Regions from separate parts of the Homo sapiens genome. Here region 2 is linked to region 1. Evidence: promoter capture Hi-C in human tissues and cell types (Jung and others, 2019). All regions are on one chromosome and are shown on one strand. Each heading gives the region's core, a stretch centred on a gene start or on the middle of the fragment in contact. The rest is flanking DNA. Distances are from core to core; before and after follow the strand shown.

Region 1 (5,687 bases), core at 2,329-4,828:
CGATGCCAGAACACCCCTTACCCATGACAATGTCATTTCTAGAAGGTTCTGTCTTCAGCTTAGCTCATCTTAAAGTTAACAGATTCCCTAAAACAGCTGTTAGGTAACACTGTACCTATTCAAAATGTACCTCTTTCTAACTATTATACAAAGAAGGACCTCAACTTTGTAAAAATGCATTTATAAAAAGGCTGGCACTTTGGGAAGCTGAAGTGGGCAGATCATTTGAGGTCAGGAGTTTGAGACCAACCTGGACAACATGGTGAAACCCTGTCTCTACTAAAAATACTACAAAAATTAGCTGGGTGTGGTGGCAGGCACCTGTAATCCCAGCTACTCGGGAGGCTGAGGCAGGAGAATCTCTTGAACCCAGGAGGCAGAGGCTGCAGCGAGTTAAGATCGTGCCACTGTACTCCAGCCTGGGCAGCAGACTAAGACTCTGTCTCAAAAACAAAAATAAAATAAAATAAAAAACTGGAAGGAAATATGCCACTGTTATTAGCAATGCCCACTGCACTGGAGGAATATATAATAGATATAATTTATTTTTGCTTGCTTTTTAAACTTTTCTAGACTTCCAGAATTATCTATGATTAAGTACTGCTTTTAAAATTATTAAATATTTTAGGCCGGGCGCGGTGGCTCACGCCTGTAATCCCAGCACTTTGGGAGGCCGAGGCGGGCGGATCACGAGGTCAGGAGATTGAGACCATCCCGGCTAAAACGGTGAAACCCCGTCTCTACTAAAAATACAAAAAATTAGCCGGGCGTAGTGGCGGGCGCCTGTAGTCCCAGCTACTTGGGAGGCTGAGGCAGGAGAATGGCGTGAACCCGGGAGGCGGAGCTTGCAGTGAGCCGAGATCGCGCCACTGCACTCCAGCCTGGGCGACAGAGCGAGACTCCGTCTCAAAAAAAAAAAAAAAAAAATTATTAAATATTTTAAATGTTACATAATTGTTACATAATTGCCTCTTTTTAAGATTCAAACCTCTTCCCCCACCCTTCCTTTCCCCTCCTCATTTAGGGATCTAGGAATGACGTGAACAAGACCATGTTTACTTTCATTGTTTTAACTATACTCAGATGAATAGTAGAAAGACAGTGGTATTTGGGCCAAAGCCCTGCCATGTTTTGCTATGTGAGCTTGGATAAATTAGTTAACCTCTCTGAACCTCCCTTTTCCCATCAACAAAAGGTATTCTCCATTTTACAGAATGGCTTTTGGCAGTTACGCACATATAAAAGTTCCTAGGTCAATCAATATTAGTGTCTCTTCTTTTCTTACTCTTCTTTATTGGACACCTCCACCCCTACCCCTATCCCTAAGTTCTCCAGGTACCCAACCCTGGTCTTACCAGGCTACAAGGTCTAAAAATCCTGACAGCCTCCTTGAGACAATGGTCATGAGCCACATACTATTGTCTCCCCAAATATACATGAATGTTCACTGCAGGCTTGTTTGAAAAAACAAAAGACTGGAATCAAACCTGTGTCCAAGGCTGGGTGTGGTGGCTCACGCCTGTAATCCCAGCACAATGGGAGGCCGAGACAGGCCGATCACGAGGTCAGGAGATCGAGCCCATCCTGGCTAACACGGTGAAACCCTGTCTCTACTAAAAATACAAAAAAATTAGCCGGGCGTGGTGGTGGGTGCCTGTAGTCCCAGCTACTCAGGAGGCTGAGGCAGGAGAATGGTGTGAACCTGGGAGACGGAGCTTGCAGTGAGCCGAGATTGCGCCACTGCACTCCAGCCTGGGCAACAGAGCGACACTCCATCTCAAAAAAAAAAAAAAAAAAAAAAAAAAAAAACTTGGCAAAAGGGTTACTGATGTTATCTCAGGGCACATCAAGGATATGCCCTTGGCCAGACCCAGTGGGAACCAGTTCTACCTGACTCTTGAGTGTCCATGGGAGCCAAGAGCCTGGCACTGGTGCCAGGCATCCTTGGGTTTGAATCCCGGCTCCAACCGTGACCAAGTGCTGTGGCCACGAGCAATGGGTCTACCTCTGAGCTACAGCCTTTTCATCTGGAAAATGGGGACAATGGCAATTCTGATCTTGCACACTTATTCATTCATTCAATAAATATTTCAGAAACTACTAAATACCAGGTGCTAGTAATACACCAAGGAACAAAATAGATAAAGTTATGGCCTCATGAAACTTTCTTTTTTTTCCTTTTGAGATGGAGTTTCACTCTGTCACCCAGGCTGGAGTGCAGTGGCACAATCTCAGCTCACTGCAACCTCCACCTCCTGGGTTCAAGCGGTTCTCCTGCCTCAGCCTCCCATGTAGCCGGGACTACAGGCATGTGACACTACACCCGGCTAATTTTTGTATTTTTGGTAGAAACGGGGTTTTGCCATGTTGGCCAGGCTAGTCTCGAACTCCTGACCTCAGATAATCCGCCTGCCTCGGCCTCCCAAAGTGCTAGGATTACAGGTGTGAGCCACCGTGGCCAGCCTGTGCTAAGCATTTCACACATATTGACTCAATCCTGATAGTATAAGTACTAGTACCATGCCCATTTTACAGATATTGAGGCTTAGAGAGGCTAAATGACTTCCTCCAGATCACACGGGTAGGTGGGGCCAGGGTTCAAGCCAAGGCATCCACATCCTTCCCACCATCCCACGTTGCCACTAGGATGCCAATTCTGGGGGACACAAACCACTTTCTCTGGTTTGTTCTCTGCTTTGTCCCCGGTTCTGGCACTGTAGGCCCTCAATAAATGGTGGCTGTTATGCACTAGGTTTAAAGGAGACTGAGCTCCCCTCTAGGCACCAGCCAGGGCAATGACCCCAAGACCTCTCTTGCAGGTAAGATGCCAGGATAGTTGCAGCTTCTTTTACATTCATTGTCACGTCCCAGGAGCCCCCTGAGCCGAACGGGACTTAGCGCTGGAGTCCTACAGGTGAGAAGTGAGAAGCAGGATGCAAGCCCATGGGCAAGCTTCATGGGGACAGAATAGACAGGAGGCATCCGCCTGCCAGCTAGAGGCCAGAGTCCAGTTCCCCATTGTGCAGATGGGGCCGTTGAGGCCCAAAGGCACACAGAGAGGTGAGGTGAACTGAACCCAAATGAGGGGATACAGAAGCTGGCATGGGAGGAGTCAAAGCAAGAGGGCCAGGCTGCAAAGGTTGGAAGACCCAGAAAATGTGCAGTGGGAGCCCCAGTTCAGAGCTGGGAAGGCGCGCAAGCCAAAATCCAGCTCCCATTGCACAGATGGTGACCTCCGAGACTTAGAGACACACGAGGACTGCTCCAGGGCAAACAGCACCGCGGCATCGGACTTCGAACTCGCGCCTCTGACCCCAGGCAGGACATCCCTCAGCCCCAGCCCGGCCCGACGGCCCCACTCACACAGCCCCGTTCCGGAAGCCCTTAAGCACGGCCAACGCAGCGTGGTAGCGGCGCTTGCGCAGCAGTGCGTTGACGACTACGAGCAGAGCCCTTAGCTGCGGCGGGGCTGCCATAGTGCGGGCTGCGCGCAGGGTCGGGGTTAGGAACTGTAAGCGCACTGACAGCCGGAGGTTCCAGCTGCGCGCCCACAGCCCCTCGGTAGCGCCGCCGACTCGTGGCGTCTATAGGCTGTTTCTGCGTCACTCATGCATGGAAGACCAATCAGAGAGCGTACTTGTCTCATGGGACAATAGCACTCATCGAAATAGTTGTCTGACTGGAAGAGAAAGGAAAGCTTGTAGCCAATCACAGTGGGCTCCGCCCAAGGTCACACACGATTTGTCCAATCAGAAGGCACTTTCCCTTGGGCCATGTTGGGTTCACGAGTGGGTTTGGAAGGAGGCGTGTACTTGGAAGGAGGGCTCCTGAATGAGGAGTGGCCCTGCTTAGAGATGGGATGGGCGACAGGTGATGATACAGGGAGGAGCAGGGCCCCATCTTTATGCGAGATAGTTCTGACTGGGATATCCTTTACCATAGCGATCTTCCCAGAGTGTCAGTCACATGGCCCCTCAATGGCTTCCATGTACGTATGTATGTTTTGAGATGCAGCCTCGCTCTGTCACCCAGGCTGGAGTGCAGTGGCGCGATCTCGGCTCACTGCAACCTCCACCCCCCAGGGTTCAAGCAGTTCTCCTGCCTCAGCCTCCTGAGTAGCTGGGACTACAGGCACCCACCACCATGCCTGGCAAATTTTTTTGTATTTTTAGTAGAGACGGGGTTTCACCATGTTGGCCAGGCTGCTCTCCTGACCTCAGGTGATCCACCTGCCTCGGCCTTCCAAAGTGCTGGGATTACAGGCGTGAACCCAGCCGGCGTCCACTTATTCTTAGAATCCAAACTCCTCCCCAAGGCCCAAGAGAGAAGACCTCCTGTGATCTGGTCCGTGCCTCTCCCTCTGACCCCACGTTCCAGCACTTGCCACCTCACTGCTTCCCAGCCAAACAGCCTCCTTTCTGTTCCTTGGGCCAAGAACCCTTCTACCTCAGGGCCTTTGCACTTGCTGGTTCCCTGCTTGATATTCGCCATCCTGGGCTCTTCCCATGATGGGCTTCTTCTCATCCTTCAGGTTTCAGCTCAAATGCCACTTCATCAGAGAGACTTTCTGAGACATCCAATTTGAAGTAGCACTGTCCACTCTGACTCATTACCCTGGCTCTTTTTTTTTTTTTTTTTTTTTTAGACTGAGTCTCGGATCTATCACCCAGGCTGGAGCGCAGTAGTGTGATCTCAGCTCACTTCAACTTCTGCCTCCCAGGTTCAAGGGATTCTTCTGCCTCAGCCTCCTGAGGAGCTAGGACTACAGGTGCATGCCACCACGCCCGGCTAATTTTTGTATTTTTAGTAAAGACGGGGTTTCACCATATTGGCCAGGCTAGTCCAAACTCCCGACCTTGTGATCCGCCCGCCTCGGCCTCCCAAAGTGCTGGAATTACAAATGTGAGCCATCGTGCCCGGCCACCCTGGTTCTTATGTGTTTTTTTTTTTTATAGAACTTTTGACACTTTAGACTTGTTTACTATGTGTTCATTGTCCATTGCCCTTATCAAACTGTAAATTCTATGAAGGAAGAAATCTTATTTGTCTTGTTTTCTGCTGTAACCCCAACACTAGGCACATGGTGGGTACTCAACACTTGCTTGTTTAAGCAACACATAGTTTTGGGTTGTCATCTCTGAGAGCATTGATGGGTGACATTAACATATGATGTCACTATGTGGAGTTGTCACTGAATAACAGCTACACACTGAGTGGTGGCTGTGACTTGTGAGGGTGTCCCCTGGTACTTGGGCCATATGGTATTTACCAGTGATGTTATTTGCTCAGTGTCAGGGGACAATTTCAGAGGTCAATGAAGGAGGGAGTTGTGCTGGGCCTATTTTGTCACTGAAACTGGGTTGTCCGGGATTTTTCTTTTGTGATGGTAGGCTACTTTATTCAGTTCATCCTTCCTCTGAAGATAATGACTATGTTAGATAATATATTAAAATATCCTCTTAAAAACACTGAAGTTCCTTGGCTGGGCACAGTGGCTCATGCCTGTAATCCCAGCACTTTGGGAAGCCGAGGCGGGCGGATCACTTGAAGCCAGGAGTTCGAGACCACCCCTGACCAACATGGTGAAACCCCGTCTCTAAAAAATTAAAAAACAAAAACAAAAACAAAAAAACACTGAAGCTCTGCCAGGTGCGGTAGGTAGCTCACGCCTGTAATCCCGGCACTTT
Region 2 (5,687 bases), core at 1,677-4,176, 170 kb after region 1:
CAAAAATTACATTCAGGACTGCGTGTGGTGGCTCATGCCTATAATCCCAGCACTTTGGGACGCCAAGGTGGGTGGATCACTTGAGGTTAGGAGACCAGTCTGGTCAACATGGTGAAACCCTGTCTCTACTAAAAAAAATAAAACTTAGCAGGGCGTGATGGTGCACACCTGTAATTCCAGCTACTCAGGAGGCTGAGGCAGCAGGATCACTTGAATCTGGGAGGTGGAGGTTGAAGTGAGCCGACAACATGCCACTGCACTCCAGCCTGGGTGACAGAGTGAGACTCCATCTCAAAACAAAAACAAAAACAAAAACAATTCAAAAGGCACACAGTAAAACAAGGCTAACTCCTGCATCGTCCTCACCTGCCTAGTCCCCATCACCTGCCACATGCCTTAGTTCCTTGTGTATCCTTCCAGTTTCTTTATGCAAATGTAAATAGGACAAATATGTCGTCATATTTACCACCCCCACACATGCTTTATATACAAATGGTAGCTTATCAGGAACGTGGTTCTATACTTTCATTTTTGCACTTAATACATCTTGGAGATCTTTTTGTATCTGCAGAGAGAAGGCTGCTTCATTCTCTGGTACAGCTTGACCATCATTTCCTTAGCCAGCTCCCAGGTAGTGGATGTTTGTGTGGCAGGTGCTGCTGCTGCCCTGTCCCATATCTCCCACCTACCAGAGCTCACCAGCAGCCCTTTCATTTCTCCAGGCTTTAGCCCACACAGGTCTCTCTGCCTGGGATATGCTTCTGCTTCTTCATCTCAAATCAAGAGTCTGGCAGCCCCGCCAGAGACACTAACCTAACTAGTTCAGGCAGGGCTAGCACTTTGGGCCTCAGGGTCTCCCTTACCTCCTCTGCCTCAGGAATGATCACAGTGGATTAAATCCTCTCCTTATCTGCCTGCCTGGCTGGGAGCACCTGGGCAGGGGTCAGAGCTGTGGGGGGGCAATGGGGAAGATGAGTCAGATTCATCACTATGTCCCAGCACCTCTTACCACATCCCATGGCCTCTAGTGAAGCAGGAGAAGGATTGTATAAAATCCAAACTCCTTCCCGTGGCCTACAAAGCCCTGCTGACCCCGTCCCTGCCTGCCATCACCCCCAACCTCAGGTCCAGCCAGTGTGGCCTTCTTGTTCCTCAGAGACCTCAAACTCGATCCTGCCTCAGGGCTTTTGTTCTTATACTTTCCTCTACTTGGACTCTCTTTTCCCCAGATCTCCTGATTAGACCTCAGCTCAAATGACACTTCCTCCAAGAGGCCTTCCCTGACCACCTTGACTAAAATATCCTACTCACCCCTGCCAACTTTGGGAACCCAAGGCAGGAAGATCAGTTGAGGCCAGGAGTTCAAGACCAGCCTGGGCAACATAGTGAGATCCCATCTTTGAAAAAAAAAAAAAAACACCCCCACTTTCTTAGCAGTTATGGGATGAATTGTGTCCTTCCCAAAGTTTATAGGTTGAAGCCCTAACCCCGAGTACCTCAGAATGTCACTGTGTTTGGAGATAAGGTCTTTAAAGAGGTGAATAAGTTAAAATGAGGCCAGTAGGGCTGGGTCTTAATCCAATCTGAGTGGTGTCCTTTTTGTTTGTTTGTTTGTTTGTTTTGTTTTGTTTTGTTTTTGAGACAGAGTCTTGCTCTGTCTCCCAGGCTGGAGTGCAGTGATGCGATCTTGGTTCACTGCAACCTCTGCCTCTGGGGTTCAAGCAATTTTCCTGCCTCAGTCTCCCGAGTAGCTGGGACTAACAGGCACGTGCCACCACTCCCGGCTAATTTTTTTTTTGTATTTTTGGTAGAGACAGGGTTTCACCATGTTGGCCAGGCTGGTCTTGAACTCCTGAGCTCGTGATCCACCCATCTCGGCCTCCCAAAGTGCTGGGATAACAGGCGTGAGCCACTGTGCCCGGCCTGGTATCCTTTTTAAAAGGGGGAAGCAACACAAGGGATGAGGGTGCACAGAGGGAAGGCCGTGTGAGGACATGGGGAGGAAAGCCGAGGAGGGAGGCCTCCAAGGAAACCCTGCGGGTGCCTTGGTCTTGGACTTGCTGCCTCTGGAACTGTGGGAAAATAAATTTCTGTTATTTGAGCCAGGGGTCCTCAATCCCCTGGCCATGGACCAGTACTGGTCCATGGCCTATTAGGAACCTGGCACACAGCAGGAGGTGAGTGGCTGGTGAGGGAGAGAAGCTTCGTCTGTATATACAGCCGCTCCCCATCACACGAATGGCTGCCTGAGCTCTGCCTCCTGCCAGATCAGCGGCAGCATTAGATGCTCACAGGAGTGTGAACCCTGTTGTGAACTGTTCATGCGGGGGATCTAGGTTGCATGCTCCTTATGAGAATCTAATGCCTGATGATCTGTCACTGTCTCCCGTGACTCTCAGATGGGACCATCTAGTCGCAGGAAAACAAGCTCAGGCTGGACCTGGTGGCTCACGCCTGTAATCCCAGCACTTTGGGAGGCCGAGGCAGGTGGATCACGAGGTGAGGAGTTTGAGGCCAGCCTGACCAACATGGTGAAACCCTGTCTCTACTAAAAATACAAAAATTAGCAGGGCACGGTGGTGAGCGCTTGTAATTCCAGCTACTCAGGAGGGTGAGGCAGGAGAATTGCTTGAACCCAGGAGGCGGAGGTTGCAGTGAGCCAAGATCGCGCCATTGCACTCCAGCCTGGGCGACAGAGAGAGACTTCGTCTCAAAAAAAAAAAAAAAAAAGGAACACAAGCTCAGGGCTCCCACTGATTCTACATTATGGTGAGTCATATAATTATTTCGTTGTATATTACAGTGTGGTAATAATATAAATAAAGTGTACAATAAATATAATATGAATCATCCCCAAACCATCCCCCCCACTATCCATGGAAAAACTGTCTTCCACGAAACCCGTCCCTGGTGCCAAAAAGGTTGGGACCACTGATTTAAGCTACCCAGTCTGTGGTACTTTGTTATGCAGCCTAAGCTGACTCTACATCTTCCAGCGCATTTCTTCCAATGCACTGTCTGACATGACTTGTTTACTGTCTGCCTCCCCGTACAAGGGCAAGTCATTTAATTGTCTTGCTCATGGTGTAGCCCCAGCTCCTACAACAGAGCCTGGTACATAGTAGGCACTCAATAAATACTCACAGGATGAATGAGCAAATGCCAATTCCATGAAGCAGAGAGTGTCATATGAAGATCCCCCCAACGCTCACAAGCACATGTGTGAATGCACCCACATGTGTGCTCAGACATGTACGTGGATAGCTGGGCGCTCACACACATGCATCCTGCCCTGCATCTTTGCCTCTGACCATGTCCACTTCATGGCAAGGGCCATGTACACAGCCTGCAGGCTCAGCGGATGGCATGACTGTGCCTGTTTCAAGCTGGCTGTGCCTCTGAGCTGCCCTCAGAAACCCACGCCTGGCGCTCCTGTCAGGAGTGTGCTTGGATGCTAGGCCTCCCAGAGGGGTCAGAAGATGGGGAAGAAGAATCTGTTTGCAAATGGAAATCAGAATAAGCTCTACCAGGCACAGAGAACAGGGAAGGCAGTGGGCAGAATATGAGTTTTCCCAGCCCCCCACTGGGGGTCAGAACAATCAGCGAGTTCCTTCTGTGCCAGCCACATGACAAGTACATTATGCCCTGTGAAGTGGTGGGTTATTCACTCCCATTTTACCGATGAGAACACAGGCTGGTGTATCCCAGCATTTTGGGAGGCCGAGGTGGGATGATTTCTTGAGCCCAGGAGGTCTGGTTTGCAGTGATCTGTGATTGTACCATAGCACTCCAGCCTGAGTGACAGAGTAAGTCCCTGTCTCTCTCTCTCTCTCTCTCTCTCTCTCTCTCTCTCTCTCTCTATATATATATATATATATATATATATATATATATATATATATATATATATATTTATGTACACACACACGGGATTGGAGAGACCAATTCAATACTCCCTCAGTATTTTTTTTTGAGATGGAGTCTCACTCTGTTGCCCAGGCTGGAATGAAGTGGCTTGATCTTGGCTCACTACAACCTCTGCCTCCCAGGTTCAAGTGATTCTCCTGCCTCAGCCTCCTGAGCAGCTGGGATTACAGGTCCCCCGCCACCACGCCTGGCTAATTTTTGCATTTTCATTAGAGACGGAGTTTCACCATGTTGGCAAGTCTGGTCTCAAACTCCTGACCTCAAGTGATCTGCCTGCCTTAGCCTCCCAAAGTGTCCCCCAGTATTTTATGGAGGCCCTAGGTATAACACTGATTGCTCACTTATTTTGTTGAAGCAGATGATATGGTGATTAAGAGCCTCAGCTTGGGAGCCAGACAGCCTGGGTTCAAATTCTTGCCCTGATAATTACTAGCTGTGTGATTTTGGGCAAATCACATCGCCTGTCTATGCCTTCCTTTCTTTATCTGTAAAATAGAGTTATAATGGTACCTACTTGCTTGAGTTAATACATGTACAGGGCTTCGAATGGGGCCTGGCATGTAGTAGGCACATTTCTTGAGCAATAAATGTTAGTCCTTATTCCTTATTTCTAATTGTATCAGGATGTTCCCACCGAATCCTGCTCCTCCTCCAGGGCTGTGCCAGCTGCCTCTCTTTCAGGCCAGACCTTGAACAATCTTTGCTGTAAGAAGGTATCACAAACTGGAAGGCTTACAGCTACAGGAGTGTATTCTGTTAGTGCTGGAGGCCAAAAGTCTGAAATCAAGGTGAGGGCCGGGCCTGCTCCCTCTGAAATCTTTCTTGCCTCTTCCTAGGGGGATCCTTCCTTGCCTCTGCCTAGCTCCTGGTGGTTTCCCAGCAATCCTCAGCGTTCCTTGGTGTGCGGGTGCGTAACTCCAGTCTCTGCCTTCCTCATCACAGGGCATTCTCCCTGACTTCACATAGCTGTCTCCTTAGAAGAACGCAGTTCTATCAGATTAGGGGCCCATTCTACTCAAGGATAGCCTCATCTTTAATTACTAATTAAACTTGCAAGGACACCATTCTCAAATCAGATCACATTCTGAGGTCCATATCTTTTTTTTTTTGAGGGGATTGGAGAGAACAATTCGACCCATAATAGCAAATCTCTCTTGTCCCTGGGGAAGCTGTGTCTTTAAAAAGAGCTAGATGGGGAATAAAGAGATTTCAAAGCCAACAAGAAAAATGGTCTTGAAGTGGATGCTCTGGTTCTCCGTGTCTCTGGTTTACTGGCTGGACTGAGCTCCCTGGGTAGTTTTATTCTCCGATCGCTGCCGTCACCCATATTCTGTCTTCCCTGTCCCTTCATGGGTTGTACGGACTGCCGATCACACTGGAGCATGAGGGAGTCCCGGCCAGTCTGGCCCAGTTGAAAGCCCCACCTCTCCTCTGGGTTAACATGGAGGAGGGAGGGCACAGGGAAAAGGTCTCTCCCCTAATAGCTTCCTGTTGGGGACTCCCTCACCTCTTGTGGCCAATGCCATCTCTCAGGCCATCCCTGACTGGCCATCAGGGATTTCTGTGTCATTAGGGCCGGATGGTGGCTCTGGCATGGGGTGCAGGTCCTTGGGGGATCCTTGGAGGCCTCTTTTCCTTGCATTCCCACAGCTGACTCTGTGTGCCCTCTTTTTCTCCCGTAGCTCCCCTTCCCTGCCTGTTTTCCTCTGGGCCCCCTTGCCTGGTCAGCAGCCCTCTTTGCTGGCAGAGCAGCAAGATGT

What was found. Contacts are between HindIII fragments. The study calls those that stand out against the background at their distance.
Region 2: a contact is called between a fragment that was not itself captured here and the fragment with the promoter of PXMP4 in region 1, in 1 of the 25 tissues and cell types used here (lymphoblastoid cells).

What each region holds. Positions count from the first base shown.
Region 1 is chr20:33,716,732-33,722,418 of GRCh38, forward strand. PXMP4 (peroxisomal membrane protein 4) reads right to left here and starts at 3,579. Exons shown (of 4, transcript NM_007238.5): 1 at 3,364-3,579. The coding sequence starts at 3,476. RefSeq lists an enhancer at 3,126-3,175. The HindIII fragment of the contact is 6,661 bases long and covers 3,325-5,687 here.
Region 2 is chr20:33,883,538-33,889,224 of GRCh38, forward strand. No RefSeq gene overlaps it. Among named protein-coding and RNA genes, the nearest start is that of CHMP4B, 75 kb to the left of the region's middle. RefSeq lists an enhancer at 1-225. The HindIII fragment of the contact is 3,948 bases long and covers 953-4,900 here.